Linked DNA regions of Homo sapiens: all the other regions are linked to region 2. Evidence: promoter capture Hi-C in 16 types of primary human blood cells and fetal thymus (Javierre and others, 2016). All regions are on one chromosome and are shown on one strand. The core of a region is centred on a gene start or on the middle of the fragment in contact, and the rest is flanking DNA. Distances in the headings are between cores, read along the strand shown. Region 1 has its middle 33 kb from the start of ZFP90. Region 2 holds the start of HAS3 (hyaluronan synthase 3). Region 3 overlaps ZFP90 (ZFP90 zinc finger protein). Region 4 holds the start of WWP2 (WW domain containing E3 ubiquitin protein ligase 2). Region 5 has its middle 37 kb from the start of SMPD3.

What was found. Contacts are between HindIII fragments. The CHiCAGO score rates a contact against its expected background, and 5 or more counts as called.
Region 1: a fragment that was not itself captured here is called in contact with the fragment with the promoter of HAS3 in region 2 in 3 of 17 cell types (megakaryocytes, naive CD4 T cells and erythroblasts); the score reaches 7.0 in megakaryocytes.
Region 3: a contact is called between a fragment that was not itself captured here and the fragment with the promoter of HAS3 in region 2, in 3 of 17 cell types (total B cells, naive B cells and activated CD4 T cells). The highest score is 8.2, in total B cells.
Region 4: a contact is called between the fragment with the promoter of WWP2 here and the fragment with the promoter of HAS3 in region 2, in 2 of 17 cell types (neutrophils and total B cells). The highest score is 7.7, in neutrophils.
Region 5: a contact is called between a fragment that was not itself captured here and the fragment with the promoter of HAS3 in region 2, in 1 of 17 cell types (erythroblasts). The highest score is 7.4, in erythroblasts.

The regions. Positions count from the first base shown.
Region 1 is chr16:68,503,169-68,509,187 of GRCh38, forward strand. No RefSeq gene overlaps it. Among named protein-coding and RNA genes, the nearest start is that of ZFP90, 33 kb to the right of the region's middle. RefSeq lists an enhancer at 4,857-5,357. The HindIII fragment of the contact is 8,227 bases long and covers 1-6,019 here.
Region 2 is chr16:69,103,336-69,108,793 of GRCh38, forward strand. HAS3 (hyaluronan synthase 3) reads left to right here and starts at 2,318. Exons shown (of 4, transcript NM_001199280.2): 1 at 2,318-2,452. RefSeq lists an enhancer at 1,983-2,531 and a silencer at 2,665-2,944. The HindIII fragment of the contact is 7,234 bases long and covers 1-4,719 here.
Region 3 is chr16:68,548,231-68,553,949 of GRCh38, forward strand. All of the region lies in intron 2 of ZFP90 (ZFP90 zinc finger protein), which reads left to right. Among named protein-coding and RNA genes, the nearest start is that of ZFP90, 12 kb to the left of the region's middle. The HindIII fragment of the contact is 165 bases long and covers 1,567-1,731 here.
Region 4 is chr16:69,757,957-69,763,771 of GRCh38, forward strand. It overlaps WWP2 (WW domain containing E3 ubiquitin protein ligase 2), which reads left to right and starts at 4,376. Exons shown (of 24, transcript NM_001270454.2): 1 at 4,376-4,435. It also overlaps the pseudogene NONOP1. RefSeq lists an enhancer at 4,181-4,759 and silencers at 4,463-4,602, 4,623-4,782, 4,803-4,852. The HindIII fragment of the contact is 2,162 bases long and covers 3,778-5,815 here.
Region 5 is chr16:68,482,588-68,488,604 of GRCh38, forward strand. No RefSeq gene overlaps it. Among named protein-coding and RNA genes, the nearest start is that of SMPD3, 37 kb to the left of the region's middle. The HindIII fragment of the contact is 3,395 bases long and covers 664-4,058 here.

The sequences.
Region 1 (6,019 bases), core at 2,784-5,283, 600 kb before region 2:
AACTTTAACCAAGGAGTAAGGGGCAAAGCAAAGACATTCTTCCCCAGCTGCAGGGACAGGCCTTGATAGACTGACATTCATTAATGTCCTTGTGTTTTCATAAGGTTAGGAGTTGGCTCTGGAAATGAGTGTTCCGTGGAGAAATGGAGGTTGTTCACAGGAAAGCCTTTCCCTTGAAGAGGGGCAAAGGTTGCTTCTTCTCAAGGGGCAGGTGGAATTTAGGTTTTAACTTTCTTTGCAAGATCCACCCCAACATTCAGATTTCAAGTCAAGCCGGGTATCCCAGTAGGAAATAACTAGGGCTTCCTCCCAAGAATTGGGGTTTGTAAGTCCTGAGGGCATGAGTCATAGGTTACCAGCCTCCTCTTGCCTGCAGGCTCTAGAACAGCACTGGACATAGAGAAGATGCTCAGTAATAGCTCTGCCTCACCCTGTCTTTCCCAGGCACTTCACAGCCTCTTGAGCTGCCAGCAGTAGGCTCTGTTAACAGGGACTGTTTCACATTGGCTCTGATGAGGGGTGATGCCCAGAGTGGGGTTCCCCAGATGCCGGGACGTGGACTCCTCTCAGATTATTTGATGATCGAGGGGCAGTTGCCCCAGAAACAAATAATTTCCTTAGATAACTGTCTTAGAAGTGATTACTCTTGGGAACAGAAGGAGGATACTGGTAACGGAAGAGACTTCTTTTCTCTCTGCAGATGCTTGAGAGAACTCTGGATTCTGAGATGTGTAATCAACTACCCCATTGAAAGTTTTAGCATTAAAAGTCTCGCATCCCAGGAAACCCCTGAGACCCAGGCAAAGCAAGACCATTGGGCTACCCTATGAGGGGTTGCCTGGGTGGTTCCAGTGTAGGGACCCAGTTGCCCACGTTGAGGCCGAAGGAGCAGGGGACTAGATAATAGGGTTGGCTGCTATTGGCTGGGAGGGGTTGGTGGCAACAACTCAGGGGCGATCACGACAGTGGCCAAAGGCAAGCCATTTCTGGGGCTCTGATTTTGAAAAGCCCTGACATCTGCCAACAAGCCCTGTCAGGACTAATCTCTCGGCCCCAAGCAGAGAGAATCCTTTCTGGAAGCCAGAAAGGGGCCTCAGGGGTGGTGGCTAGAGAGGCTGACCATGCTGACCTGAGCAACACCTCAGGGTCACAGGCAGCGGAGGCTGCTTCGTGGCTGGAGAAATGGCAGATGTGTCTGACACTCAGGTGAGGCCCCCAGAATGTCCCAGACACTGCTGGGGCGTTCGCTTGCATGGGGTGCTAAACACAGCCTGGTCCTGATGGGAGTTGGTGTCTCTGGAATTGGGCACAGAGGTTAAAGCAGAATATTAAACCAATTTTCAAAAATTTGGAGAAATAGATTTTTTTAGTGAAGAAAAAATTTACTCCACTTACTAAGAAGAGTCCTCAAGGGAGAAGAACATTGTCTCCAAGTCACCAACTTCCTCAAAAGGAAAATTCAGGAAAGGCTCTTCCCTCCAAGCCTTGGTGTAATGGGAAGCTCATAATTTACATATTATCACAGACATACCAAAGAAACGGAACACCATGACTGATATAAGACTTAGCGGCAACCAAGGAGAGATTATCTGGGCATCTCTGAGTCTCCAATTTGGGAAAAATTCCCTCTAAGCCTTTTAGTGTCCTATTATGCAAGTTGGAGTCGACTTGTCACAAATCATAGGTGTATAAAAGAATAGTGTCTGGCACACCTCACAGCTATATGAGGGCACCTGGCGGCTCATTCTGGCTGCTGAGAGAAAGGCTGGCAGAGGTGCCGAGGGGGCCGTGGGGTGGCTCTCCCCACCTCTGATGACAGGGTTCCCATGGTTTTTGTCCTGGCTTTGTGGGGACCTGATTTTGCCAGGTGTGCCCTTGCAGGGCAGAGACTAGCTGTGCTTTGTCCACTTGTTGTGGGCTCTGCAGTGCCCATGCCCGGGCCTGGCATGAATAGATGTCCCATGAATGCTTCTAGAATCTTACTGAATGATTCCCGCAGACCCGTGCAGTGAAACACTTAAGTGACAGGCATCCACACTTCTGTTGGTAACAGCTCTCTTCCCGGCCACCTTAGAGTGAGGCCTGTGGAAGAAGACATGTGTCACTCTGGGTCCTGGGCCCTTCATCCAGACGGTTCCATGGATCCCAGGGCTGTCTCTATCTATCCAGAGCCCCAAAGCCACCTGCAGGCAAGCATGCCTATTTCTTCCTCTCTTGGGTTCCTTCCATCCGCTCATCCTGGTGGAGCACCTCATTGGCCAGTCGGTGTCCTTGGTGCTGGGGATACAGCAAGTCCACGAGACAGGCAAGGACCCTGCTTAGAAAACTGCCTCTTGAGGTGCACAAAGAAAGAGGTTGGTCTTTGCTTCTCAGAGGCAGAAGGTGAGGGGACTCAATTGCAAGTTACACAGAGAAGTGAACATTCACTTCCAAGATCTTCTGCTGTCCATTCCCACTTCCGTTGGTCCAGTATTCCACATTTGATTTGGGTGTCCTTTCTTCCCCCATACAGCTCAGGGACTTCTCACCCTCTCCCAGCTTCAGGGACAGGCCTTGATAGACTGACATTCATCAGCATGTCCCAGCCACCTGGCCACAGTGGTTGGCTAAGGGATGGGCACCAGACCCAATTGGGACCAATAAGACCCACAGGACTTTTGATGGGCACCTGGGAAGATGCTTTCTTATTTATTTATTTAGAAACAGAGTCTTACTCTGTTGCCCAGGCTGGAGTGCACTGGCATGATCTCGGCTCACTGCAACCTCTGCCTCCCAGGTCCAAGCAATTCTCCTGCCTCAGCCTCCCAAGCAGCTGGGATTATAGGTGCCTGCCACCAAGTCCAGCTAATTTGTGTATGTTTAGTAGAGATGGGGTTTTGCCATGTTGGTCAGGCTGGTCTCAAACTCCTGACCTTAAGTGATACACCGGCCTCAGCCTCTCAAAATGCTGGGATTATAGGTGTAAGCCACCACACCCAGCAAGGGAAGATGCTTTCTTGATAATTTGTAGAAGCCACCTGGAGAAGGAACTGCTGGCTCTTCCAGGCAGTCAGAGCGTGAACCAGGGTTTGGCACATCTTTGAACCCTTTGCTGTGTTGGGCATGGCTGGCCTGGAGATGAAGCCCATAGCCCAAGGCAGGCAGGTGGAAAGAATTCCAGAGCAGCAGCGACAGTGCCCCGCCTGAACCTCAGCTGGGGCTTCAAGACTGTTTGGTTCCATGGGACAGCCCATTCTCTTTAGTTTGTGCTAGTTTGGGTCTACTGTTCTGAAAGCTACAACTGAGAAGATGCTAGCTGATCTCACTAAAGAGGAATTTCCTTTCAGGTCACAGAGTCAGGACTGAGGCAGCCTGGGCTTGGGAGAAGGAGGACCAGGCAGTTGGTTGGTGACACTCATTCAGGAACCAATAGCTTTGTGCCCCAGGGACTGTGGGAAGGAGGACCTCAATGCAGACAGGGGAGCCGCAGGTCTGGTGCAGGGAGGGATGATCATGCCCAGGGCCCTCACTCCCAGCCTCGGCTGGAGGCTCCCTTCATAGAATTCCACCTGCCTGGTAAATGCAGAATGCAGTCCACTTAAAGAAATCAGAGCAGCTGCCACGTCAAAGCCGAAAAGATGTGTGGAGGTGGGTGGAGAGGAGGCGGGTAATTATGCAGGAAAAATAGTTTTCTTGATATTCTTCTGGAAATATGCGTGGAACAGAGGGAGCAGCAGGAGAGATGCCAGGCAAGGAGAAAATGTATGAATAGCAGAATGCATGGTGCCTCTCCAAAGGCAGACAGAGGCAGCGCTGCTTTGACCACAGCATCCTTTTGTGGGGAGCATCTGGGACTCCATGAGACACTTCCGCAGGGACTCTTCAATGTAGGACTTTATTCATGGGTCCATTACAGAATTTGCTGGGAATGATTGAGCCTTTCTTCCCCCTGTAATCCCAGCACTTTGGGAGGCTGAGGTGGGAGGATTGCTTGAGGCCAGGAGTTCAAGACCAGCCTAGGCAACAAAGTAAGATCTCGTCTCTACGAAAAAAAAAATTTTTTTTTAATTAGTCCGAAAAAAAAATGGGAGAGGCGTGAGGGATAAAAGACTACACATTGGGTACAGTGTAGACTGCTTGGGTGATGGGTGCATCAAAATCTCAGAAATCACCGCTAAAGAACATATCCTTGTAACCAAACACTACCTGTTCCCCCAAAACCTATTGAAATTTTAAAAAATAATAACCAAGTGCGGTGGCATGCGTCTGTGGTCCCAGCTACTCGGGAGGCTGAGGTGGGAGGACTGCTTGAGCCCAGGAGTTCGAGGCTACCGTGAGCAATGATTGTACCACTGCACTCCAGCCTGTACCACAGAGCAGGACTCTTGAGAGAGAGAGAGAGAGCACGCTGGCATGGGATCTCCCCATGCCACTTCTATGCCCCGTTAGGAATCTGCCCACAGAACCCATGTACTCTGCATGCCCAAGTGGCAGAGAGGCACCCCAAACTCTGAGAAGCAGCTCTGAGGTTGTGAACATTGAATGTAGATAATTATCCAGCTGTGAAGAAGCTGAACATTTCTTCGGGCTGTTTCTGCGTAATTATAAATATTTGAGAATATTAAACTCCCAGGTTACACATTGAGGGTATTGTCTGAGTAGCAGTTGGCTGCAGAGCTGGAAATGCAAACATATTTTCATTCCTCCCTCCTGGTGTACTCAGGATATTTCATGGGATTCAAAAGAAAAAGTTACAGTCGAGAAAAAAAAGCACCGACAACCTGGAGGCAAAGTCAGTTGCTAATATTTCTAAATAGCTTTAAATCAAAGAAGAGGAATGTGACCACTTTAGTTAACTGTGCTGGGTTTGTGATGCGTTTTTCTCTATGGTTTAGGAAAGCAATTACCATGAAACAACCTACCTGTGCCTTCGTGTGATAAAATGTTCCCTCTAATAGGGCCAATATGCCCAGCAGTAGGTCTTTACAAGCACTCAATGTTTCTAGAAGCATTTTCACATGTGGGGCTCCTTGGTGTGCAGTGAGAGCCCATGACTCACTCCTTAAGGACCCGTCATAGTGCAGGGTTGTTGGTTTTGTTTTTTGTTTTTTGTTTTTGAGATGGAGTTTCGCTCTTGTCGACCAGGCTAGAGTGCAATGGCACGATCTTGGCTCACTGCAACCTCCACCTCCCAGGTTCCAGGTTCAAGTGATTCTCCAGCCTCAGCCTCCCGTGTAGCTGGGATTACAGGCGCCCAGAATGCCCGGCTAATTTTTGCATTTTTAGTAGAGATGGGGTTTTGCCGTGTTAGCCAGGCTGGTCTCCAACTCCTGACCTCAGGTGATCCGCCCACCTCGGCCTCCCAAAGTGCTGGGATTACAGGCATGATCCACTGTGCCACAGGGTTCTTAATAGGAGATGGGTTCTTCCAAGGAGAGGCTGGTGTCCAGGCTGTGAGTGGAGGCTCTGCTGCCCTGGTTCTGCCCGGAGGCCCATGTGATGAGCCCAGGGTCCTGTCCAGACTTCCACCCTCACACTCTTGGTCACCCCATCTTGTCCTCCCACCCACTGAAGTCTCCTGTCTTCTCACCCACTCCCCAAGTGCTGTCCTCCACGCCCTGGAAAGCAGGGGCCATCTGTTACAGACACATCCTCAGCCTTCCATCTCCTGCTTTGCAGCTGTCCCCTGCTGGCCACAGCTTCCCCACATCTCCTGGGAGTTGCTGTCCCTTCTCCAGACCCCCCAGTATCCCTGGAAACCACTGCTCCTGTGCCTTTGAACAATCCCACCCCCTTCACACCCCCCGTCCCCACCGCCCCAGTTTTTGAGGCTCCTGCTTGCTGTTCTCCCTTCCCAGCCCTTGCTCTGGGGCTTGGCTCACTTTTTCTCTCCCCAGTTTTTCCCAGGCTGGAGTGCAATGGGCGATCTTGGCTCACTGCAACCTCAGCCTCCCAGGCTCAAAACATCCTCCCGCCTCAGCTTCTCAAGTAGCTGGGCCCACAGGTGCACACCACTGCGCCCGGCTCATTTTTGCATTTT
Region 2 (5,458 bases), core at 1,068-3,567:
GTGTGCAGGAGGTAGCCCAGGGCTCCAGGGTTCATAATGCAAGAGAGACAAGACATTTTTCTTTCTTTCTTTCTTTTGAGATGGAGTTGCCCTCTTGTTGCCTAGGCTGGAATGCAGTGGCACGATCTCGGCTCACTGCAACCTCTGCTTCCTGGGTTCAAGTGATTCTCCTGCCTCAGCCTCCTGGGTAGCTGGGATTACAGGCGCCTGCCACCACACCTGGATAATTTTTTGTATTTTTAGTAGAGACAGGGTTTCACCATGTTGGCCAGGCTGGTCTCAAACTCCCGACCTCAGGTGATCCACCCGCCTCAGCCTCCCAAAGTGCTGGGATTACAGGTGTGAGCCACCACACCCGGCCAGGCAGTTTTCTTTTATTCAAACACTGATCCTTGAACTTGCTGTCACTGAGTGCTCTAGAGGGATGGCCATGTAGAACCCGTGGCATGGGCAAAGGATGCTGCTGTCTGGTTTACTAACACTTGCTGAGCGCTTACCCTCAGCCAATCTCTTCAAACTTCCTATCAGTCCGCCTAGCAATCCCATCTGTGGGATGAAGACACTGGGGCTTACTGGCAGACTCTAGAGCCCTCCCCTCCACCAACCTAAGGCTTCTTCTCCATCTTTGTGTAAGTAGGAATGGCTCTGGTAGGGCCCCTCAGGCCATCTGAAGTTCAAAACACATTGGCAGCTGGGCTGGATAGCATGCCTATAGGACTAGCTCCTAGGGAGGCTGAGGCGGAAGGGCTGCTGGAGTCCAGGAATTTGTTTTTGAGACAGCGTCTTGTTCTGTTACCCAGGCTGGAGTGTAGTGGTTCGATCATAGCTCACTGTTGCCTTGACCTCCTGGGCTCAAGCAATTCTCCTGCCTCAGCCTCCCTAGTAGCTGGGACTACAGGCACACTCCACCATGCCTGGCTAATGTTTTTTTTTTTTTTCTTTTCTTTTCTTTTTCTTTTTTTTTTTATTTTTATTTTTTGAGATGGAGTCTCACTCTGTCGCCCAGGCTGGAGTACAGTGGCATAATCTTGGCCCACTGCAACCTCTGTCTCCTGGGTTTAAGCGATTCTTCTGCCTCAACCTTCCCAGTGGCTGGGACTACAGGCACGTGCCACCATGCCTGGCTAATTTTTGTATTTTTTAGTAGAGATAGGGTTTCACCATATTAGCCAGGCTGGTCTCTAACTTCTGACCTCGTGATCCGCCCACCTCGGCCTCCCAGAGTGTTGGGATTACAGGCGTGAGCCTGCACCCGGCCCTGGCTAATTTTTTAATTTTAATTTTTGTAGAGACGGGGGAAGTCTCGCTTTGTTGCCCAGGCTGGTCTTGAACTCCTGGCCTCAAGCGATCCTCCATCTTCAGCCTCCCAAAGTGCTGGGACTACAGGTGTGAGCCACTGTGCCTGGCCAATAATGTAAGATGGGATTGTGTGGAGTAGGTGTGCCTGGGGTCTTTGCTTGCCTGCGGGGACTGAGGTGTGAGGTCTGTGGCCCAGACTGAGCAATGGTGGGCAGGCAAGTCCCTGAGCCCCTAAAACTTGCGAGAGGAGAAGTTTATAGACTGCAGCTCAGGTGCCTATAAATTTGTTGCAGCTTGGGAAGAAGTGATAGAAATTATATCAGGTGTATTTGGAAAACAGGTAAACTCTGTTTTTTGGTTTTTTTTTTTTTTTTTTTTTTTTTTTTTTTTGGAGACGGAGTCTCGCTCTGCTGCCCAAGCTGGAGTGCAGTGGTGCGATTTCAGCTCACTGCAACCTCCACCTGCGGGGTTCAAGCGATTCTCCTGCCTCAGCCTCCCGAGTAGCTGGGATTACGGGCATGGTGCCCGTAACGCCGAAAGTGCTGAGATTACAGGCTTGAGCCACGGCGCCCGGCCACTCATTTTTTAAAAACTAGTTATTAATTATAATTTCTCTTCAAGTTTTCCTGAGATGTAAAAACTCATCGCCTTCAGCTGGTTCTAAACTTCTTGTCTCTGCTAACAACTCTCCCCCCTCCTCGATCTCACCCCACCCCAGTGCACCCCAACTCACTTCATCTCACTTTACTCGAGTCTAGCACTATCTTTTAGGGACCTGAAAACTACTGTCGATAAGGTCAGTTGGGAATTTAGGAGGTCATGGATGTCGGAAATAAAGGTGTGAAAAAGAAGAGGAGGAATTGTTTTGGCTTTAAGACACCGGAACCTCCAAGGTTCCTACAAAACCGTTTGCAGCTTTTGCAAACCGCCTTAAAGTCATCAGCGCCCCACTGCGGAATTCAAAGCTAAGCTGTCACAATTGTTAACACCTTCTTTGACCAGCCTTTTTACATTTGACAATTCTCTTCAGCGCCTCTTTCCTGCCAGCAGGAAGGTTTTGCTGCCTTGGCTTTCGGGAGCCCCCTAGACAGCGAACTGCCCCTTCGCGTGCAGAAGTCGGGGAAGAGTGCTCTCAGCTCGCCTTCCTTGCAGGGTGAGTAGGTTTTGCGGGTTAGAGAGCGGGGCGTGGGGGCGGGGAGGGAGAGTAACAATTTTGGAAGTCCCTGCGTGGTATCTGGAAAGTTAACGACGCTTCAGGTTCTAGGTTGAGCCCAATGACCGTCTTGCCTTGGCAGCTGGTCCCAGGGCGATTGCAGAGCCGCGTGGCCTTCGGCCCCACTCGGGGGACCCAGCTTCGGAGAGGGCGCAGGGGCTGCGAGTCTTGCGAGCCGGAGCCGCGTCCACCCGGGACTAGGCGTCCCCGCCGAGCGCTGGCTTGTGGCGCTCCCTGGGACCGCGCGGGGTCGGGGGTGCGCCCGCGGGGGCCCTCCCACTCTGGTCAACTTTCCCGGCCCCAGGGCCGGGGGAGGCGCCTCTCCTGGCGGGCACGCGCCGGGTACTTAAGGGCGGCTCGGCTGGGCAGGCGGCAGTCGGAGCGCGCGGCGGCGCGGAGCGGAGCGGGAGGAGGGGCATGGAGCCGCCGCGGGCCTGCTGAGCTCCGGAGCGCGGCAGCCGGCGGCACGGTGAGCGCGGGCCGGCCGGCACCCAGGAGGGGAGGGCCGCGCGGGGCTGCGCCGAGGCCGGGGCGCGCCGGGTGGCAGGGGTGCCTCTCGCCGAGCCCCCCGCACCCGGCCAGCTCCCAGCCCTGCGGGCGCCGCGTCCGGCGCGGGGAGGCGGGTTGGGGGCGGCGGCAGCCCCGGGCTTCCCGGCGGCCGTTCCTGCAGCCCCCTCCCCACTGACCCCTCCTCCCTTTCTTCCTGCATCCTCTCCTCTTCCAGCCTCGCCTCCCTCCTCCCCGGCGGCTCCTGTTTTGTGAATGAATTAGGAGGCGGACGCCGGTGCGGGGCTCCAGGCTGGCTGGGGTACCCCTCCCCCGCACCTTCTACGACCTCCCGGGGGTTTGCACCTGTCCGGGCACCAAGGTACCAGGCGCCCACGTTCCTGCGGGTTAGCCGGGCCGCGGCAGCACGTGTCCGGGGGAGTGGGCTCCCCTCCCCTGGCCGGCCTGGAGGGGCCCGGAGGGCGGCCGGGCACAAGAGGAGGAGCCCCGTTGGGCGCACAAGTTTCCATGCCGCTGCGTGTGGCCCTGCCGCGGGGCGCACCTGTCAGCGGGAGAGACGCTGCACACCAGCAGCCCCTCAAAGTTTCGGAGGCTTGATGGAGAAGCGTGCGTCCTTGACTGGGGGTTCTCCTTCCGTAGTCCTGGGAGCCGGACTTGAGAGCGCCCCCAACCTTGTGCCCTTGAAAGCCGAGTGCGCGTTAGTTTGCCTGGGCTGGGCTCCCGTGGATGAGCGAAGGGCATGAGGAGGCGGCGGTCCAGGCTGTAGGATCACCCCACAGCCTCTGCCGGCTTGGGGTGACACAGCCCCCCGCCCCAGGTCTGGGCAGGAGAACCTCGACCACAGCCTGCACCAGCGCCTGATTGCACGTGGGGTATCTGGCTGAGGGACATTTTGGGGGCCTCTATTTGGGGGTGGGGGTAGTAACCTGGGTAATGCCTCTAATTCCTGCGGGGGAGGGGTCCCGCCCAGGGAAGGAGAGGGCCGGCTACACCGGGGATGCGCCTTTGTCTACAGGCACACTTTGCCAAGGTAGCTGGGGTACCAGGAAGAGCAGGGCCTGGTCCGACTGGGATCCCTTGGGTTTTCCGTTCCTTCCCGGTTGGGTCGTGGGAAAGCGGCACGTGGGTGTGGCCGGCGCCGCCTTTGCCAAGAGGCGAGGCTCGAGCGGGGATGAGAAGCGTGGCGAGTGCGTTCGCGGCTGCTTTGACCTGGTGGGCGCCGCCTCCGGCACTGCACCGAGGCGGGGCGCCAGCGCCCAGGTTGCTGGGCTGGCCTTGGCGCCCCCTTCCCCTACCCAGAGCGCAGGCAGGCAGGGGGGTCCCGCCGCGCCCCTTCAGCATGTAAGCTCCGGAGGGGAATGGGGGCGCTCCTAGGCTGCGGATGCAGGCCTGGGGACTCCTGGGCCGCAGGCGCGAGCAGTAGGGTGGCAACAGGGAGGGCTGGGAGTCCTGTGAAGGAAGCACACGGCGGGCTCCCCGGGACGGTGGGGCAGAGCGCCCGGAGGCCGCGCTTCCCGGAGAGGCTAGGCTGCCAGCAGCTCTTTTCGGGCCAACGCTGCTGGAAGGCTGCTAGTGCCGGAGTCTCAGGTCGATTTAGGCAGTGACTGCGTGTTCTTCGTCCCTTCTACGTGAGAGGCGTCCCGACAGGAAAGTGTGTTTGTTTTGGGGGCTCCGTTTCCTGAGACCTAAGAGTTGGAGCAAGCTTGGAAGCGAGGCATCATTGTCTGTAGACCTCAGTGAACATGGGGTTCTCTAGATCAGGCAGGTGGCAGAGAGGAGATAGTGTGGGTCAGAATGGGAAGGCCGGCAGCCATCCTTGCCACCTTTTCTTTCCCCTCCCTCACATCCCCCTCCCCACCTGCTCTGGAGGAAACCACAGTCACCCTCACCACTAGGGTAGCTCTTCGGGGCCGGAAGTGTTTCCATTTTTAGGGAAATGACTTACCTGAGACATGAGGCAGGAATCCATTAGAACTCCCATTGTGCTATGGGGAGACCAAGTCTCAGAGAACTGGGGCAAGGTCAGGCAGCCAGGAGGCAGAAGTGCTGTCTTAAACCCAATTCTCTAGTGCCAAGTCCTGGGCTGTTATAAAATACAGCTGTTTCCAACAGGGGAGATGTTAGGAGCCCTGACTTAGTTGCAAATGGAAACCGGGCATTGTTTCCAGGAGTGGCTGGGCAGGGGGACACGCACAGAGACGCATGCTGCACGGGCACTAGGACCAAGCGGATGGGATGCCCAGGCAGCCACTGTGGAGGCTGCTGCAGTGGTGGCTGCAGTTCCCTGTGCTTTCTTCAGCCCTGGGCTCTAGGAGGCTGTCCACTCCCCAGCTTGCATTTCCTGGTCTGCCTCTCCCCCTGCTTTCCCTTTCTTTCCTGCCTCTCAAGTAAAAGGTGAGAAAGTGGAGGACACAGGGAAAGTTTCTCTAATAACTGTCT
Region 3 (5,719 bases), core at 399-2,898, 560 kb before region 2:
AAACATTCAGATTGCTTTTCACCTTTTTCTGTCTTTTGAAAGAATTTACCTATAAAACATTTAGACTCAGGATTTTTATAGACAAGATGTTTTGGCAACAATTTTCTCTATTTCCTCCTCAATTATAAAGGTTTCTGCTTTTTTGTGTAAACATTGGTAGTTTAGAATTTAAAAGTTTTTTGTTAAGATTTTTTGCATTTCTTAACACACTAGTGTGTATATTTCACTGTTCTGTTTATCCTCCTTTTTTTTTTTTTTTTTTTTTTTTTTTTTTATTGAGACGGAGTTTCGCTCTTATTGCCCAGGCTGGAGTGCAATGGCGCAATCTCGGCTCACCGCTACCTCCGCTTCCCAGGTTCAAGCAATTCTCCTGCCTCAGCCTCCTGAGTAGCTGGGATTACAGGCATGCACCTCCACACCCGGCTAATTTTGTATTTTTAGTAGAGATGGGGTTTCTCCATGTTGGTCAGGCTGGTCTCGAACTCCCGACCTCAGGTGATTCGCCCGCCTCGGCCTCCCAAAGTGCTGGGATTACAGGCATGAGCCACTGTGCCCAGCCTTATCCTCCTATCTTTAAGTTCATCTTTTAAAAATTTCTTCTTACTCGATTTATCAGAGGTTTTTCTATTTGGCTGGTGCTTAAGAGGAACCAGCCTTAGATTTGGCTGTTAATGCCATCGTTTTTCTGTTTGCCTCTGTTTTTTATAATCCAAGAATTTAATTCACTAACCCATGTGTTTTTTTTTAATCCTCGAAACAACTCCTCATTTTCCTGCATTGAGAATTACCCAGATTCTGTATCCATTCACTCAGCAGACGTGTTTGGAATGCTTGCTCTATGCCAGGCAGTGGTTCTTAACCAGGGTCATGCTTCAGAACCAGTCAGGAAGTGGTGCCTGCTTCCTCTGGGGTGGTGACAAGGCTTCAGTGAGGAAATGTGGTGAGAGTGCACGTAAATGACTGAGTTTAGTGTTTGCCTAGCAGCGAGTGTTCAAGAAATCTGAGCTGTTGCTCTTTGATAATGAACCACCTGAGGAGCTTTTAAAAGATGCTGGGCAAGACCCTCCATGCATGGACAATTTAGAAAAGCTGCCCAGGTGATTCTGGACACTCTCCACTTGCAGTGTCAGAGATACTGAAATGAAAAGGAGTTTAAGAAATTTTTGGCTGGGCGCGGTGGCTCATGCCTGTAATCCCAGCACTATGGGAGGCTGAGGCAGGTGGATCACGAGGTCAGGAGATCAAGACCATCCTGGCTAACATGGTGAAACCCCGTCTCTACTAAAAATACAAAAAAAATTAGCTGGGCGTGGTGGCGGGTGCCTGTACTCCTAGCTACTCGGGAGGCTGAGGCAGGAGAATGGCGTGAACCTGGGAAGCGGAGCTTGCAGTGAGCCGAGATCGTGCCACTGCACTCCAGCCTGGGCGACTGAGCAAGACTCCATCTCAAAAAAAAAAAAAAAAAAAAGTCTTGAGGGAGAAAAATGTAACTAGATGGCTACGGTTCTGAAATGGAGATGGGGACCAAATGCTGAAGGGGGATGGGGAGCACGGAGGATGTGGGGAAGCTTCAGGAGGGAATGGAACAGTGAACTGGTTCTACAAGGATGACTAGGAATTTTTCCTGTGGAACTGAGGGAAGAAAGTACATTATGGTCAGAATAGGATGTATAAAGGCAAAGAAACACAAAAGAAAATGTTGTTACTGGGCCAAAGAGTCCATGTGGCAGAAGCTTTGGGTATATGACAGGAGGCAGCATTTGAGAGAAAGATGGCCTGAGGTGGAGACCTAGAACAATGTAGAACGGTGGTGTGCCAAAGAAATACACATTCCATGTGTAATTTTAAGTTTTCTAGTGGCTACAATATAAAAAGAAACAGGTGAAATTAATTTTAGTAATAAATATTATTTAAAACAATATATCCAGAATATTATCATCTCTACATGTGATAAATGTTTTAAAATTACTAATGAGGCATTTTACATTCTTTCCTTGATAGTAAATCTTTGAAATTCGGTGTGTATTTTATTTTATTTTATTTATTTGAAACAGAGTCTCACTCTGTCGCCCAGGCTGGAGTGTAGTGGCGCAATCTTGGCTCACTGTAACCTCCGCCTCCTGGGTTCAAGCCATTCTCCTGCCTCAGCCTCCTGGGATTACAGGCATGTGCCACCACACCTAGGTAATTTTTGTATTTTTGTAGAGACTAGGTTTCTCCATGTTGGCCAGGCTGGTCTCAAACTCCTGACCTCAGGTGATCCACTCACCTCAGCCTCCCAAAGTGCTGGGATTATAGGTGTGAGCCACTGCGCCTGGCCCAGTGTGTATTTTGCTTAATCACACATGCCCATTTGGACTAGCTACATTGCAAGTGTGACTTTTAAGTTTGTCTGCTCTTTTTCTTTTCCTCCTAGCATTTAAAACCAGTTTGTAATTGGGTGAACATCTAAATCCTTAATTTAAAAACATAATGAATAGCCACATGTGGCCAGTGGCTGCCATATTAGACTGTGTGGCTGTAGATTGCCATTCCCTGGATTAATGCTGTCATTAGCAAGGGAGGATTTCAGCTGGATTTGAAGGATGAAGGCAAGGGACTGAATTCAGGAGACATTTCTGAGGCTTTTGGTGACTGCAAGGCATAAAGGAAAAATGAAGAGTCAAGGAGGAGGTCCAGGTTTCCAGTCTTCAATACTGCAGATGGTGATGCAGTAGGAATCTGTGTGTGTGCAAAGGTTGACAGTGATGTTCTTCTCTCTGTACACCATTGTTAGTTACACGGTCAACTATCGGCTTGTTAAACTATGATCAATCTGGTATCAGAGGCCACTTAGTGCTTAAGTGGAGATACCACACTGTATTGCCGTAAATGTGATGTTTTCTGATTGGGCAAACTGTATTTGTACATGTCCTTTCTGGAAGTGCCCTTTCACCCCATCTGCTCATAAAACTCTTTATTTCTGTAGTTCAGGGAACTCATGTTATTGATGAGGTAATTGGATCTCCAGGAGGTGTGAGATCTACTCAAGGATATTATGCATTTATTCATTATGGAGCTTTTTAGGAGCCCATGAAATTGAGTCTTCTCAACTTAGTATATGCTGTTCCTAGTTCCTTGCTTTGGGCTCAACCATTTGGCCAAGATCCTTGTATGTCAGCATAAGGAAAGGGAACATGTGATCCTTTTTTTTTTTTTTTTTTTTTTTGGAGACGGAATCTTGCTCTGTTGCCCAGGCTGGAGTGCAGTAGCACAGTCTTGGCTTACTGCAAACTTCGTCTCCTGGGTTCAAGCAATTCTCCCTGCCTCAGCCTCCCAAGTAGCTGGGATTACAGGTGCCCGCCACCACGTCCAGCTAATTGTATTTTTAGTAGAGACAGGGTTTTGCCAGGTTGGTCTCAAACTCCTGATCTCAGGTGATCCACCCGCCTTGGCCTCCCAAAGTGGTAGCATTACAGGCATGAGCCACTGCACCTGTCTGGAACATGTGATACTTCTTAATAACTTTGTTCGTTGCTTTTTGGTTTTTGTTTTTGTTTTTTTATTTAGGCAGAGTCTGGCTCTGTCACCCAGGCTGGAGTGCAGTGGCGTGATCTCGGCTCACTGCAAGCTCCGCCTCCCAGGTTCACACCATTCTCCTGCCTCAGCCTCCTCAGTATCTGGGACTACAGGCGCTCGCCACCGTGCCCGGTTAATTTTTTTTAAATTTTTATTAGAGAGGGAGTTTCACCGTGTTAGCCAGGATGGTCTCGATCTCCTGATCTCGTGATCCACCCGCCTTGGCCTCCCAAAGTGCTGGGATTACAGGCATGAGCCACTGCGTCTGGCTGCTTTGTTAGTTTTTAAAAGGGGTTGATGATGAAGTCCTGTTACATCTGGAAGAAGGATGAGCAGCTATCTGCAAGGTGTTACTGGATCATTTATTAGGGTTCAAGGTGTGACCTGTAGCATGAGATGCCCTGAAGTTGATCTGACTCAGAGTGACTAACTTCCACCAAGAGTGCATTTTACCTATTTACTCCGGCAAACTTTTGATTGTCTGTTATGTACCAAACTGGTTCTCGCCTCTGGAAATTTGAAGGTGCCTGAGCCAAGGTCTTGACCTTCTAGGAGCACAGTTTGGTAGGAGTGACCACTGGGTAACAGACACCTGAATGTAGTAGTGTCTTATGAGCTGTGCTAGAGAGAGGCCCAGGGAGGAGAGCTGCTGGGATGGGAGGGGGACACAGCCCAGACCTGGGGTACGAATGGGGCCCCAGAGGAGAGAACTTGACCAAGTCTTGGTGAAGAGTGAAGAGTGAGCCTTAGCCAAGCCGAGGAAGAAAGGCTGAGCGCTTGAAGTAACGCTTGCCGAGGTGAAAGAACGTTCTGGTTTCAAGGAGCTGTAACTCTTCTGCATGGCCAAATGTTAGTGTCTGAGGGGAGGAGAAGCCAGAGTGGGGGCTGTGGAGGTCCCCAGGGGACTAGGCCATGAAGGGCTCTGAAGCTCACACTGAGGAATCTAAGTTTTAATCTCAAGACAAATATTTATTAAATATTTGTGGATGAGGCATGGTGGCTAATACCTGTCATCCCAGCACTTTGAGAGGCTGACACAGGAGAACTGCTTGAGCCCATAAGTTCATAGACCAGCCTGGGCAACATAGAGAAACCCTATCTCTACAAAAGTAAAAAAAATAGGTATGGTGGCACACACCTGTGGTCCCAGCTGCTTAGGAGGTTGAAATGGGAAAATTGCCTAGGCCCGGTAGGTCAAGGCTGCAGTGATCTATGATTGCACCACTGCACTCCAGCCCGGGCAACAGAGCAAGACCTTGTCTCAAAAGAAAAATGTATTAAATATTTGTGGAGCACCTACTACATGTCAGGTCTGTTCTAGACAATGGAGATTCAACAGTAAAGAAAATAAATAGTATTCTTGCTCTCGGGGTTTACATTCTGCTTTGGGATATAGACCGTAAACATGATATGTCAGGTGGCAAAGGCTGTGAAAAAGACAGTGAGAATGTAGAATGGGGTGCTATTTTGTGTAGGATGGTGAGGGAAGGTTGCTCTGATAAGGTGACATTTGAACAAAGAGCTGAAGCCAGTGAGTGGGGAGCCACGGGCGTACATGCAGGAAGAGGCTTTCAAGTCAAGGGAAAAGGCGGAACACAGGCACCAGGGAGGAAGTAGGTTTAGTGTCTTCCAGGAATCAGAAGGAGGGTGGGGTGGGTGCAGGCGAGAGCTGCAGGCAGGGGAGGAGGCTTGAGGTGAAGTCAGGGAGCTAGCTGGCACCCAGATTGTGAAGTGCCTATAGGCGGCCATAAAGACTTTGACTTTACTTGAAATGAATCGGTGCCATTGGAGGCCTTGAAACAGAGGTGACTTGATCTGGCAGATTTTTGTTTTGTTTTGTTTTTCTTTGAGACAGGGTCTTGCACTGTCACCCGGGCTAGAATGAAGTGGTGTCATCGTGGCTCACTGTAGCCTTGAACTCCCGGGCTCAAGCAGTCCTCCTGCCTCAGCCCTCCAAGTAGCTAGGACCATAGATGCAAGCCACCATGCCCAGCTAATTTTAAAAAATTTGTTTGTGTTAGAGATGGGGTCTCACTGTGTTGCCCAGGCTGGTCTGGAACTCCTGGCCTCTAGTGATCTTCCCACCTCAGCCTCCCAAAGTGCTAGGATCACAGGTGTGAGCCACCATGCCCAGCAGTCTGGCAGATTTTAACAAGATCTC
Region 4 (5,815 bases), core at 3,126-5,625, 660 kb after region 2:
ATTGAAGACAGCAAAGTGCCTCCCACTTCCCTCTAACCTGGACTTCTCCTCTACCGACTGGTCTCTCCTCGGAGTAACGGCGACGCTACACGGCCTCTCCCGTCCCGAGAAAAGCTTTTTTTTGTTTTGTTTTGTTTTGAGACGGAGTCTTGCTCTGTCGCCCAGTCTGGAGTGCAGTGGCGCGATCTCAACTCACTGCAAGCTCCCCCTCCCGGGTTCACGCCATTCCCCTGCCTCGGCCACCCAAGTAGCTGGGACTACAGGCGCCCGCCACCATGCCCGACTTTTTTTGTATTTTTAGTAGAGACAGGATTTCACCGTATTAGCCAGGATGGTCTCGATCTCCTGACCTCGTGGTCCACCCGCCTCGGCCTCCCAAAGTGCTGGGATTACAGGCGTGAGCCACCGCGCCCGGCCAAGATAGGTACTGTTTTACAGACAAGGGATAGCTAACTAAAGCCACTAGGTGTAGCTGACATGGTCAGTAAGTGGTGAAAATAACGTAACACCCAGACAAACTGATTCAGAGCCACTTTTTTCTCTCTTCTCTTCTTTTTTCTTTCCTTTCCTTTTCTCTCTCTCTCTTTCTTTCTTTCTTTCTTTTTTTTTTTTTTGAGACACGGTCTCTCTCTGTTGCCCAGGCTGGTGTGCAGTGGCATGATCATAGTTCACTGCAACCTTGAACTCCCAGGCTCAAGTGAGCCTCCTACCTCAGCCTCTCGAGTAGCTGGCACCACAGGCCCACACCACCATGCCCAGCTAGTTTTTTCATTTTTACTTTTGTAGAGATGAGAGTCTCATCATGTTGCCCAGGCTGGTCTGAAACTCCCAGGTTCAAGCAGTCCTTTAGCCTTGGCCTCCCAAAGTGCTGGGATTACAGGTGTGAGACACGGTGCTGTCCCTGAGCCACCTAATTATCCATTCTGTTATACTGACTGCTGCTTATGTGCCTTCACTTCATTTTGAGCAACGTGGGGCCAGAGTCTGTCTAATTTGTCTTAATAGTCTCACCCCACCTCCCTAAGCAACACACATAATTTGGTAGCAAATAATTCCTTGCTGAATTGAACAGAAGGTGTATTTAGTGACTTCTACGTTTCCTTGCAAATCTGAAATTTTATGATTATAAGATCCGGTGAATTTTGCTGAATGTCGACTTGGGTCTTCATGCAAACTTTCTTCATGAAGTCTTCACGCCAGCTGGATTCCTCAATTGTCATTTATCTGTCCTACCCCAAAAATCCTTCAGTGCTACTGAATATTGCCTTTCAGCAATTACCCAAATTCAGTCTTTCTCTTTTTTTGGGGTGGCGGGAAGGGGACTGAGTTTTGCTCTCGTCGCCCAGGCTGGAGCACAGTGGTGCGATCTCAGCTCACTGCCACCTCTGCCTCCCAGGTTCAACAATTCTCCTGCCTCAGCCTCCTGTGTAGCTGAGATTATGGGTGCCCGCCACCACGCCTGGCTAATTTTTGTATTTTTAGTACAGATGGGGTTTCACCATATTGGCCAGATGGTCTCGAACTCCTGATGTACGGTGATCCACCTGCCTTGGCCTCCCAAAGTGCTAGAATTACAGGCGTGAGCCATTGCACCTGGCTCAACCTTTCTCACCACTCAGTCTCTTCATTATCTAGAACGTGCCTGTGCTACCTGCCGTAACAGAGTATGGCTGGAGGCTATTTCTCATTTTCTAGTTTATCATATCAATTTTTTTTTTTTGAGACAGAGTCTCACCCTGTCATCCAGGCTGGAGTCCAGTGTGCAATCTTGGCTCACTGCAACCTCCGCCTCCCAGGTTCAAGCGATTCTCAAGCCTCAGGCTCCTGATTAGCTGGGACTACGGGTGTGTGCCACCATGCCCAGCTAATATTTGTATTTTTTGTAGAGATGGGTTTTCACCATGTTGCCCAGTCTGATCTCGAGCCCCTGACAGTCTGATCTGCCCGCCTTGGCCTCCCAAAGTACTGGGATTACAGGTGCCAGCCACCGCACCCTGTCAGATTTTATTCTTTTAATGTGCAGTGTGTGCTCTTTGCTTGTCCCTTCTCCCCTTTGGTGAACACTTACTCAGATGCCACTAAATCTTTTCTGCAGGGTTGTTAAAAAAAAGCAACAAAAGATAAAAAATGAAATATGAAAGAAGAAAACAAACCGAAACCAACAAATGCTAGTAAGTCAAGGAAATAGTCTCTAATTTATCTAGAACAGAATTAGTAAAACTGCCATCAATGGAACTGGAGAAGTTTTAGTTATAGTAGTTTTATAAATGAGACTAATATAGGGTTTAATGTACAAAGACAGGACTGTATCTCCTTGAAAGTTAATCTCTTGGATTTGGAGTGGTACTACAAAAAGTAGAGACTAAGTGTTCAACCTATTTATTTATTTAGATACAGAGTCTCACTCTGTCGCCCAGGCTGGAGTGCAGAGGCGTTATCATGGCTCACTGCCACCTCCGCCTCCCGGGTTCAAGCAATTCTCCTGCCTCAGGTTCTGGAGTACCTGGGATTACCCGCACCCGGACCATGCCCGGCGAATCTTTTTTTTTTTTTTTTTTGTAGTTTTAGTAGAGATGGGGTTTCACCAGGTTGGCCAAGTGGGTTTCGAACTCCCGACCTCAGGTAATCCACCTGCCTCTGCCTCCCAAAGTGCTGGGATTACAGGCGTGAGCCTCCACGCCCCACCAGCCAATTTAATTTGTATGCATGATAGAATCCATCCCAATTCGAAGACCCAAAAATAACAGATTAGTACAAGTCTTTGAGGCTAATTACGTCATTAGTATTAATTTTAATCAATGGTGATTAAACTGAGCCTTCATTCAACTTGTCCAGAACATCAGTCAAGAATGTCTATTTAAAATGTTCTTGGAGGCCGGGCGCATTGGCTCACGCCTATAATCTGAGCACTTTGGGAGGCCAAGGCAGGTGGATCATCTGAGGTTAGGAGTTTGAGACCAGCCTGGCCAACATGGTGAAACCCCATCTCTATTAAAAATACAAAAATTAGCCAGGCATGGTGGTGGGTGCCTGTAGTCCCAGCTACTCAGGAGGCTGAGGAAGGAGAATTGCTTGAACCTGGGAGGCAGAGGTTGCAGTGAGCCAAGATTGAGCCACTGCACTCCTGCCTGGGCTACAAGAGTGAAACTCTGTCTCAAGCAAGCAAATAAATAAATAAATAAATAAATAAATAAAGTTATTGGGCAGGCACAGTGGCATTCGCCTGTAGTCTCAGCTACTTGGGAGGCTGAAGCAAGAGGACTGCTTGAAGCTGGGAGTTCGAGCCCAGCCAAAGCAACCTATCCAGACCCATCTCTTAAAAAAAATATTTCTCTGCCAGGTGCGGTGGTTCATGCCTGTAATCCCAGCACTTTGGGAGGCCAAGGTGGGCGGATCATTTGAAGTCAGGTGTTCGAGACCAGACTGGTCAACATGGAGGAACCCTGTCTCTACTAAAAATGCAAAAATTAGCCAGGCGTGGTGGTGCACGCCTGTAATCCCAGCTACTCGGGAGGCTGAGGCAGGAGAATTGCATGAACCGGCGAGACGGAGGTTGCAGTCAGCTGAGACTGCACCACTGCACTCCAGCCTGGGCGACAGAGCGAGGCTCCATCTCAAAAAAAAAAAAAAAAATATCATCTATCTATCCACCTACCTACCTACCTACCTACCTGGATTATAATTCATTAAGTTCTCTGTGCCCTGTAGTTGTAGATTAAGGGAATGCGATTGGATTAGTGTGGAGGGGCTTTTTATGGAGCCAAGCAGGAGTTTTTAAGCTTTTGTACTTTTGCTTCATGTCACAAGGACAGATGCCCCACAAAGGCTGAGATGTTTGTGGTCCTGGATCTTAGAACAGTGCCTGGCACATAATAGGCATAAGGTTGCCAGGAAATAGAAATACAGATACTCAATTCAATTTGATCTTCAGATAATCAAAAAATACTTTTTTTAGTATAAATATGTCCCATTCTGTATTTGGGACATACATATTACACTGTTGTTTATCTGAAATTCAAATTTAAGTGGGTGTCCTGTACTTTATCTGGCAACCCTACTAAAGGAGCTCAATTAAGTATTTGCTGACTTAACAGTCTGAAGGTCTCGTTTCACCTGTAAAATGGGGCTAGTACCTGTCCCTGCCTCTATAAGGTTGATGGGCAGAGTAGGTGGCATTCAGTGAGCCCTCAATTTATTTGATTGCCTGGGACCATCCGGTGAGCAGAAACCCTTCCACTTTCAACTACAGAGACGATAAAAAGGCCTCCTCGAGGCCAGAGGTGCCCAGGCCAGGCCTAGGTGGCCCGCACCTGCGAGCCTGGCCAGCCTCTTCCGGGTCAGGTGACCGCGCGCGGTCACGTGACCCGGCCCGAGTGCGGGCGGTGGAAGGCGGAAGTAGGAGAGGAGTTCGGCGCCGCTTCTGTGGCCACGGCAGGTAGCGAGCGCTGGCGCGGGGGGCGCGGTGGGCTGGCTGCCTGCACGGGGCGGGCCGGGGGCGGCGGGCGGCGCGGGGTGGGCCGGGGGCGGCGCGGCCCGGGCGTCGGGGGGCGGCGGCTTCCTGTGGGAGGGGCCTGGCGCGGCGGTTCCGGCCTCCGAGGAGGGGTGTCCCGGCTCCCGCCCGAGTGGGGTGGGCGCGCCGCGGCCCGCGCGGGGGTTGCTCCGAAATGGGTGCCCCGGCCGCCAAGGGTGCAGCTGGAGCGAGTCCTCCCGGAAGGGGAGAGGAGCTTAGGTTCCCAGGCATGGAGAGGAGCGATCTTTGTGGAGGGATCGGGACCAGGGGAAGGGGCGACTTGGAACTGAGCTGGAAGGGGGTGCCTGAAAATGGGTTTATGGCGTGGAGCCAGAGGGAAAAAGATGCTGCCTGGACCCCCTCTGAGAGTCTCTCCCTTCCTTCCTGTTTGGAAATGATTGTTACCCGAGACTTTGATGACGGTCCCATTCAGTTTTTAAACTTCAGGAGGGATCACAGAATCTTGATCGTCTTGCTTCCCTCGCGCCCACTTAGTCCTGCGTGGGTAGGGTTTCCACTTCTTGGGAGCCTAGCCCTTCAGCTCATTTTTCTTTGAGATTTTCCCTGAACGGGCCATCATCGAGGCTTTAAAAAACAAAAAAAGAAAATAAATTAAAAAAATAAGTGTGGGCACTTTGCCTGTAAAATGGCTTTTAGCTTACACTGTTGACCTAGCCCAGCGTTACCTCAGCAACATAGTGACTGCTGAAATCTTGGACAGAGAAGTGTCTACCTAGACTGCTTTATGACTTTTCTCTTTCTTCCGTTTAAATTATTCAGTTTCCCTTAGCTTATCTTGTGACTGCTTATCTTGACGAACTGTAACTAGGTAGGGTGCCTGAGAGGTCTGTGTTATGTTCCTTAGAACTGTGACCTGGATCATGATTTTGAGATTGAATACTTGTGTTAAAGCCTGTTCATCTTCCTGTTTCTCATGTTTACTAAAATTTGCAGAAGCAAAAGGAGTTTCATGAGTGCAGTGTAACTGGAACGAATGTTCAAACTGGACATTCACAGCAGCCAGCATCGTTTTGGGTTACAAGTAGGAAAAAGTACTTTCCTAATGTATTATGAGTTCAAGTTTTTGGAGTTATTTGACAAACATTTAAAAATTAGTTTTTGCAGCAGCGCCTATGAGTGAGGTTGGGAAGATGTATTCTCATTTCACAGGGAACAAACAGACTTACGAGAGACGACTTGATTTTTTAAAACAATTTATTGCTCTTTCTTGTTTGCTGGCCTCTTCCTGCTAGATTGCAAATCCTTCAAGGGCAGGTTTCATATTTTATTTGGCTGCTAGCCTAG
Region 5 (6,017 bases), core at 1,111-3,610, 620 kb before region 2:
GCTGTTTTCCATTGCTTTTTTCTTTTTGAGACAGAGTCTTGCTCTGTTGCCCAGGCTGGAGTGCAGTGGCGTGATCTTGGTTCACTGCAACCTCTGCCTCCCAGGTTCAAGTGATTCTCATGCCTCAGCCTCCCTAGTAGCTGGGATTACAAGCCCACACCACCACGCCTGGCTAATTTTTTTTTTTTTTTTTTTTTGAGACAAAGTCTCTGTCTCCCAGGCTGGAATGCAGCGGTGCGGTCTCAGCTCACTGCAACCTCCACCTCCCAGGTTCAAGTCATTCTCCTGCCTCAGCCTCCCAAGTAGCTAGGATTACAGGTGCCCGCCACCACACCCAGCTAGTTTTTGTATTTTTAGTGGAGACAGAGTTTTACCACGTTGGCCAGGCTGGTCTCAAACTCCTGACCTCAAGTGGTCTGCCTACCTTGTGCTCCCAAAGTGCTGGGATTACAGGCATGAGCCACCACACCTGGCCTCCACTGCTTTTTTCTAAACCATCTGCCAGCTCACAAACTCTCTTCCACTGCATTTTAAAATTTCATTTATGATATATTTTTCACCTCTGAAAAATATACCCCTTTCTCAAGTCTGCTGAAAATTTGCTTCCTTCTCAAATCTGTTAGGTCACTCTTTATAGTTTCCTACTCCCTACAGGTATTTTCAAGCTTGTCTTTTATTTTGTTACACATGTTAAGTATGTTTTTTAATTGATGCTGGATAATTCCATGATCTGAAGTTGTTGTAGGTCTATGTCTGCTGTCTGTTGTTTCTGCTGATTCTCAGTGTTTCCTTGTGTAGCTGGCTTATTTGGGGCTTATATACCACTGAGTATATTTGAAAACTTATTGGTGGGTACTTCTTGAGGCCTAGGATGAATATGCCTCTCTCCAGAGAGGATTGATGGGTCCCTCTGCCAGGTGACAGGGGCATTAGCAGTCCAGGGGTACTTTATTTTTTTATTTTATTTTATTTTATGTTTTTTTTTTGAGACAGGGTCTTGCTCTGTTGCCCAGGCTGCAGTGCAGTGGCACAATCTCAGCTCACTGCAGCCTCTGCCTCCTGGGTTCAAACTATTCTTCTACCTCAGCCTCCTGAGTAGCTGGGATTACAGACACATGCCATCACGCCCGACTAATTTTTATATTTTTGGTAAAGACGGAGTTTCACCATGTTGGCCGGGCTGGTCTTGAACTTCTGGCCTCAAATGATCTGCCCACCTTGGCCTCCCAAAGTGTTGGGATTACAGGCATGAACCACCACACCCGGCCCCAAGGGTACTTTAAATTCATGAGCAGAGGTTTTATGAATCACGCAAATGACGTGAACTTGGGCCGCCAATCTAAGTGATGGCCAGCTTGTGGTTACATCTCAGTGACAACTCCTCCCCTCTTCTCTTGCATTCCCAAGGTAGGGAGACCTGTTAGGGTGCCAGCTTAAACTAGGAGAGCCTCCTGATAGATTCCCCACTGGGGACAGGCCCTGAGTTTTGACATTTATCACACTGGCCCACAAGATCATTAATACTGAGGTTCTTGGCTGGGCGCGGTGGCTCACGACTGTAATCCTGGCATTTTGGGAGGCCGAGGTGGGTGGATCACTTGAGGCCAGGAGTTCGAGACCAGCCTGAGCAATATGGTGAAACCCTGTCTCTACTAAAAATACAAAGCCGGGCATGGTGGCATGTGCCTGTAATCCCAGCTACTCAGGAGGCTGAGGCATGAGAATTGTTTGAACCTGGGAGGTCGAGGTTGCAGTGAACTGAGATCGTGCCACTGCACTCCAGCCTGAGCAACAGAGCAAGACTCCATATCAAACAACAACAACAACAACAAAAACCTGAGGTTCTCACTTGCATATCAGCAAACACCCACATAGCCAAAATGACTTCAGTGCTTCCTACTTGTCTAGGTTCTTACCTCTCCTTAGATTCTGACCTTATTCCTTTTTCTCTTGCCAGCTCTTCATTGCTTTTAACAAGGTGTTTTTCATGTTTTATCCAGCATTTTTGGTTGTTTTCAACAATTATATCCTGTAAAACAGAGCTTGGCAGATCTTGCTGTGTGACCTCAAATAGGTCACTTCCCCTCTCTGGACCTCAGCCTTGCCTACCTCATGGCATGGTTGGGAGGATTAAATGAGGAAATGAAGGTAAAGGGGCTAGCACAGTGCTCAGCACATAGGGCACTCAATGAACATGAGTTCTCTTCCCTCTTACTGCCTGGTGGGGCTGGGTCCTTGGGATAAAACAGAAACCTAGTCATCCAATCCGGCCTAAGGTCTGGGTTACAGCAGCAGCTGAGGTTCGAGTGCCAATGCCCAGAGTTCTTCATCCTTTTTCAACTTCTGAGGTACCAGCTAAATGTTTGCTCCTGGAGATGGGAGTCCTGTAGCTCAACCAAGCTGGGCCAGATGCCAATGGCAGGGGAGGCATATGATCACAGTACCAGTGCCGGGGAGCAGGAAGGGCCCCTGGGGGAGCCTAGACCCATGGCCTCTGCACCGCAGCATCCCTGGGAGTGCCGCCATTTGGCTTGTGAGGGTGGCTTAACTGCAAGTGGCTTGGGGTAGCCTGGCTTGTGAGCCAGGCCTCTAGGGAAAACCCTCCTGCTTGGATCTAGAAGCCAGTGGTATGTGTCCATCCTGGAGGGAACAGCTTCCCAGACCAGAAAGCTAGGGTGCTCCTCTGCACTGTGGGGAGCTAGAATAAGGGTCTCCTGGGAGCAGTGCAGGCTTTTCCCAGAGTCAGTTCTAACCTCTCCATCGCCTCCATTACAGTCCCCCACCTGGCCACCCACCACCTGGCCAGGGTCACCATAGCCCTCCCTGACACCAGAGGGTTTTGTTTGTTTGGTTGTTTGTTTTTGAGATGGAGTCTCGCTCTGTTGCCCAGGCTGAGGTGCAGTGGCACGATCTCGGCTTACTGCAACCTCTGCCTCCCCGGTTCAAGTGATTCTCCTCCTGCCTCAGCCTCCTGAGTAGCTGGGATTACAGGTGCAGGCCACCACGCCCAGCTAATTTTTGTATTTTAGTAGGGACGGGGTTCCACCATGTTGGCCAGGCTGGTCTCGAACTCCTAACCTCAAGTGATCCGCCCGCCTCGGCCTCCCAGAGTGTTGGGATTACAGGCATAAGCCACCACACCTGACCCATCAGAGGGTTTTAATGAGAGAATGTGGATGCCATTCTCTCCCCAGCAAAGGTTCCCAACACTCAGGGTCAGCTGGCACTGCAGCCTCCTGTCCCCTCAGCCTCATTTGGTATTGGTTAGGGAGCCTCCTGTCCTTCCCTGAGCTTACTGCAGTCATTTCTGTCCCCATGGCCCTTACATGACATCCCTGGAAGGTGAGGTCTGGCCAGGCAGGCTGGGCATGTCCACTCTAACAGTGTACATCGGAAGTTCCCAGTCCAGAGAAGTCCTTCTAGGTTTCAGAATCAGGTTGGGACGAGGAGCAGGTTGGAAAACACTGTATTGGCCACAGAGCAGCCCAGGTCTGGAAGAATGAAAAGTCCTCTGATCCTAAATCATTAGAGAATATATTATAGAATGAAGCCATTTTCCAATCAAATGCAGCACTTTGGCCATTTTACCTGTATACATGCATAGATGAATTTTTTTTTTTGAGACAGAGTTTTGCTCTTGTTGCCCAGGCTGGAGTGCAATGGCACGATCGCGGCTCACTGCAACCTCTGCCTCCCGGGTTCAAGTGATTCTTCTGCCCCAGCCTCCAAGTAGCTGGGATTGCAGGTGCTCGCCACCACGCCCAGCTAATTTGTGTGTGTGTGTGTGTGTGTGTGTGTGTGTGTGTGTGTGTATTTTTAGTAGAGATGGGGTTTCACCATGTTGGCCAGGCTGGTCTTGAACTCCTGACCTCAGGTGATCTGCCCTCCTTGGCCGCACAGATGAATTTTTAAACAAGCTCATCCAGATGGTGAAAAAAGGCACATGCCCTTGCCAGATGAAAAATGAGATTCAAATGTGGATTAAATATATCAATTAAGAAGTCCCAATCCCTGGCCTGCTGCAGTTATATCCTTCAGAGACAGCAACCATTCTGGGAAGCTTCAACTACATCCTAATTACCCAGTGGGAAATCAGTGTGTCTTCGGAGGAAAATATTTCTAAGGGCTTTTAGCATGAGCTGTCTCCTCCCTACAGAGGCAGAGGGAGGAGAATTAGGCCAGTGCCAGACTCAGAGGCACACATTCAGGTATCAAGAGGCAAACGTCACTGCATCTTTTTTAAATCTGGGAATTTCTCTGGAATTCTTTGAATTACCATAGCAAAGTTGGTATTTCTTTTAAGGCACTTCTTATCTTACATCATAAGATGTTTTCTGAGATTCATTCATGTTGTTTCTTTGCCCCGGACTGCCCCTCCTCCCTTTGTCAGCCAGGCAAAGCTTTGTTTATTATTCAAGAGACTGTTCAAATGGCGCCTCCCCACAAAGCCTGTCCTGACCCTTGGCACTCCCAACAGGAAGACCAGCTCACTGAATTCTGCTGAAGAGTCAGCTATGAATGAGAATCAGATAAAACAGGTGCTATTCTCACCTTCTTCCTGTACACCTGTTCTGGAACATTCTTCCAGCAGTGCATAAAGCACTCTGCATTGTGTCTGCCTCTTCGTGCCTCTATGGGGCTGTGAGCTCTTTGAGAGAAGTCCTGAGACCTCCACTCCTTACACTCACTCCACCCACTCTCCATGTCCCCAGGGACCCTTGCTGGGCTTGGCTCTGCAGGCTGTGGCAGTCAATGAGCCTCTGAGCAAGCCTCCCTCCGGTACGGTATTCATCTGCCCTCCACAAGGCATCTAGTACAGGGCTCTGCATGCAGCAGCTACCTTAAACACACTGAAATGCAAAAAGAAAACAGACTTTATTTTAGATCCTTTGCAATGGAGGATGCCGAGAGCCTTAGCAACTTTCCTAAGCTAAAATCTGTGGGCTTCAAAGTGAGTTTCTAGGACTTCACTTTGGGGTGCCACCTTGAGAAATTTTAAGGCAATGTGACATTAGGGGGCCCATCCCCCAAAAAGGTGCCAAGAGGTACCTTCTAGAAGAGGCTGAAATTTGAGGAGCCCTTTGGTGGGAAACAAGTTACTAACCCAGCTGGGAAGAGATCTGAGAACAACCAGCTCACGGCTGGCTCTGCTCAAGGATGAACAAGGCAAAGAGCCCCCGTGGGTGTCACCTGGGTTTTGAAAGAAGTGTTGCATAAATGATTGCCTGCCTGTGGCATCAGGAAATCATTTGACCATCAATCGACAGCACATCTACCTCCAGCCCAGGCCTATTCCCCTGGGACAGTGCCTCTGGCTCTTGGCTGCTCCTCCCCGCAAATACGCTGCTATGTGCAAAGACTTTTGGCCCTTGGTACACATGTGCCTCTAGCTACCAACATAGCAGCTTGCGGGGCATTATTTTGGGGCATTATTTCCTAGATTTGATCCCCAAAGACTGATTCCCCCTGGGCTTCCTATACTTGTCCTCTGCACTGTTCCCTGATTGATCTAGGCAGAGTAGGAGTTCTCACCCGCCTGTATGACCCAGCTCCCCCAAGAAAGACCAGCTCATCTAAGGCTGGAGCTGAACGGGAACGACAAGGCCATGGGGCTGGGTAGGGAAAGAGTCTCCCTTGCACAGTTATCAGGCCAGGGACCTGCTCAGGACCCCTGAACAGTGTCTCATGTGTGTAATGTCAGCACTTTGGGAGGCTGAGTGGGGATGATCAGGTCAGGAGTTCTAGACCAGCCTGGGCAACAAAACGAGACCCCATCTCTACAAAACTTCACAAAAGTAGGCGTGGTGGCACACGCCTACAGTCCCAGCTACTCAAGATGCTGAGGTGAGAGGATCGCTTGAGCTCAGGAGTTTGAGGCTGCAGTGAGCTATGATCACCCCACCGCACTGTAGCCTGGGCAACAGAACAAGATCCCGTCTCTAAAAACAAAAAAAAAAAAAACAGCTTTATTAAGATATAGTTGAAATATGTAAACAGCACATACTTAAAAAGTACAA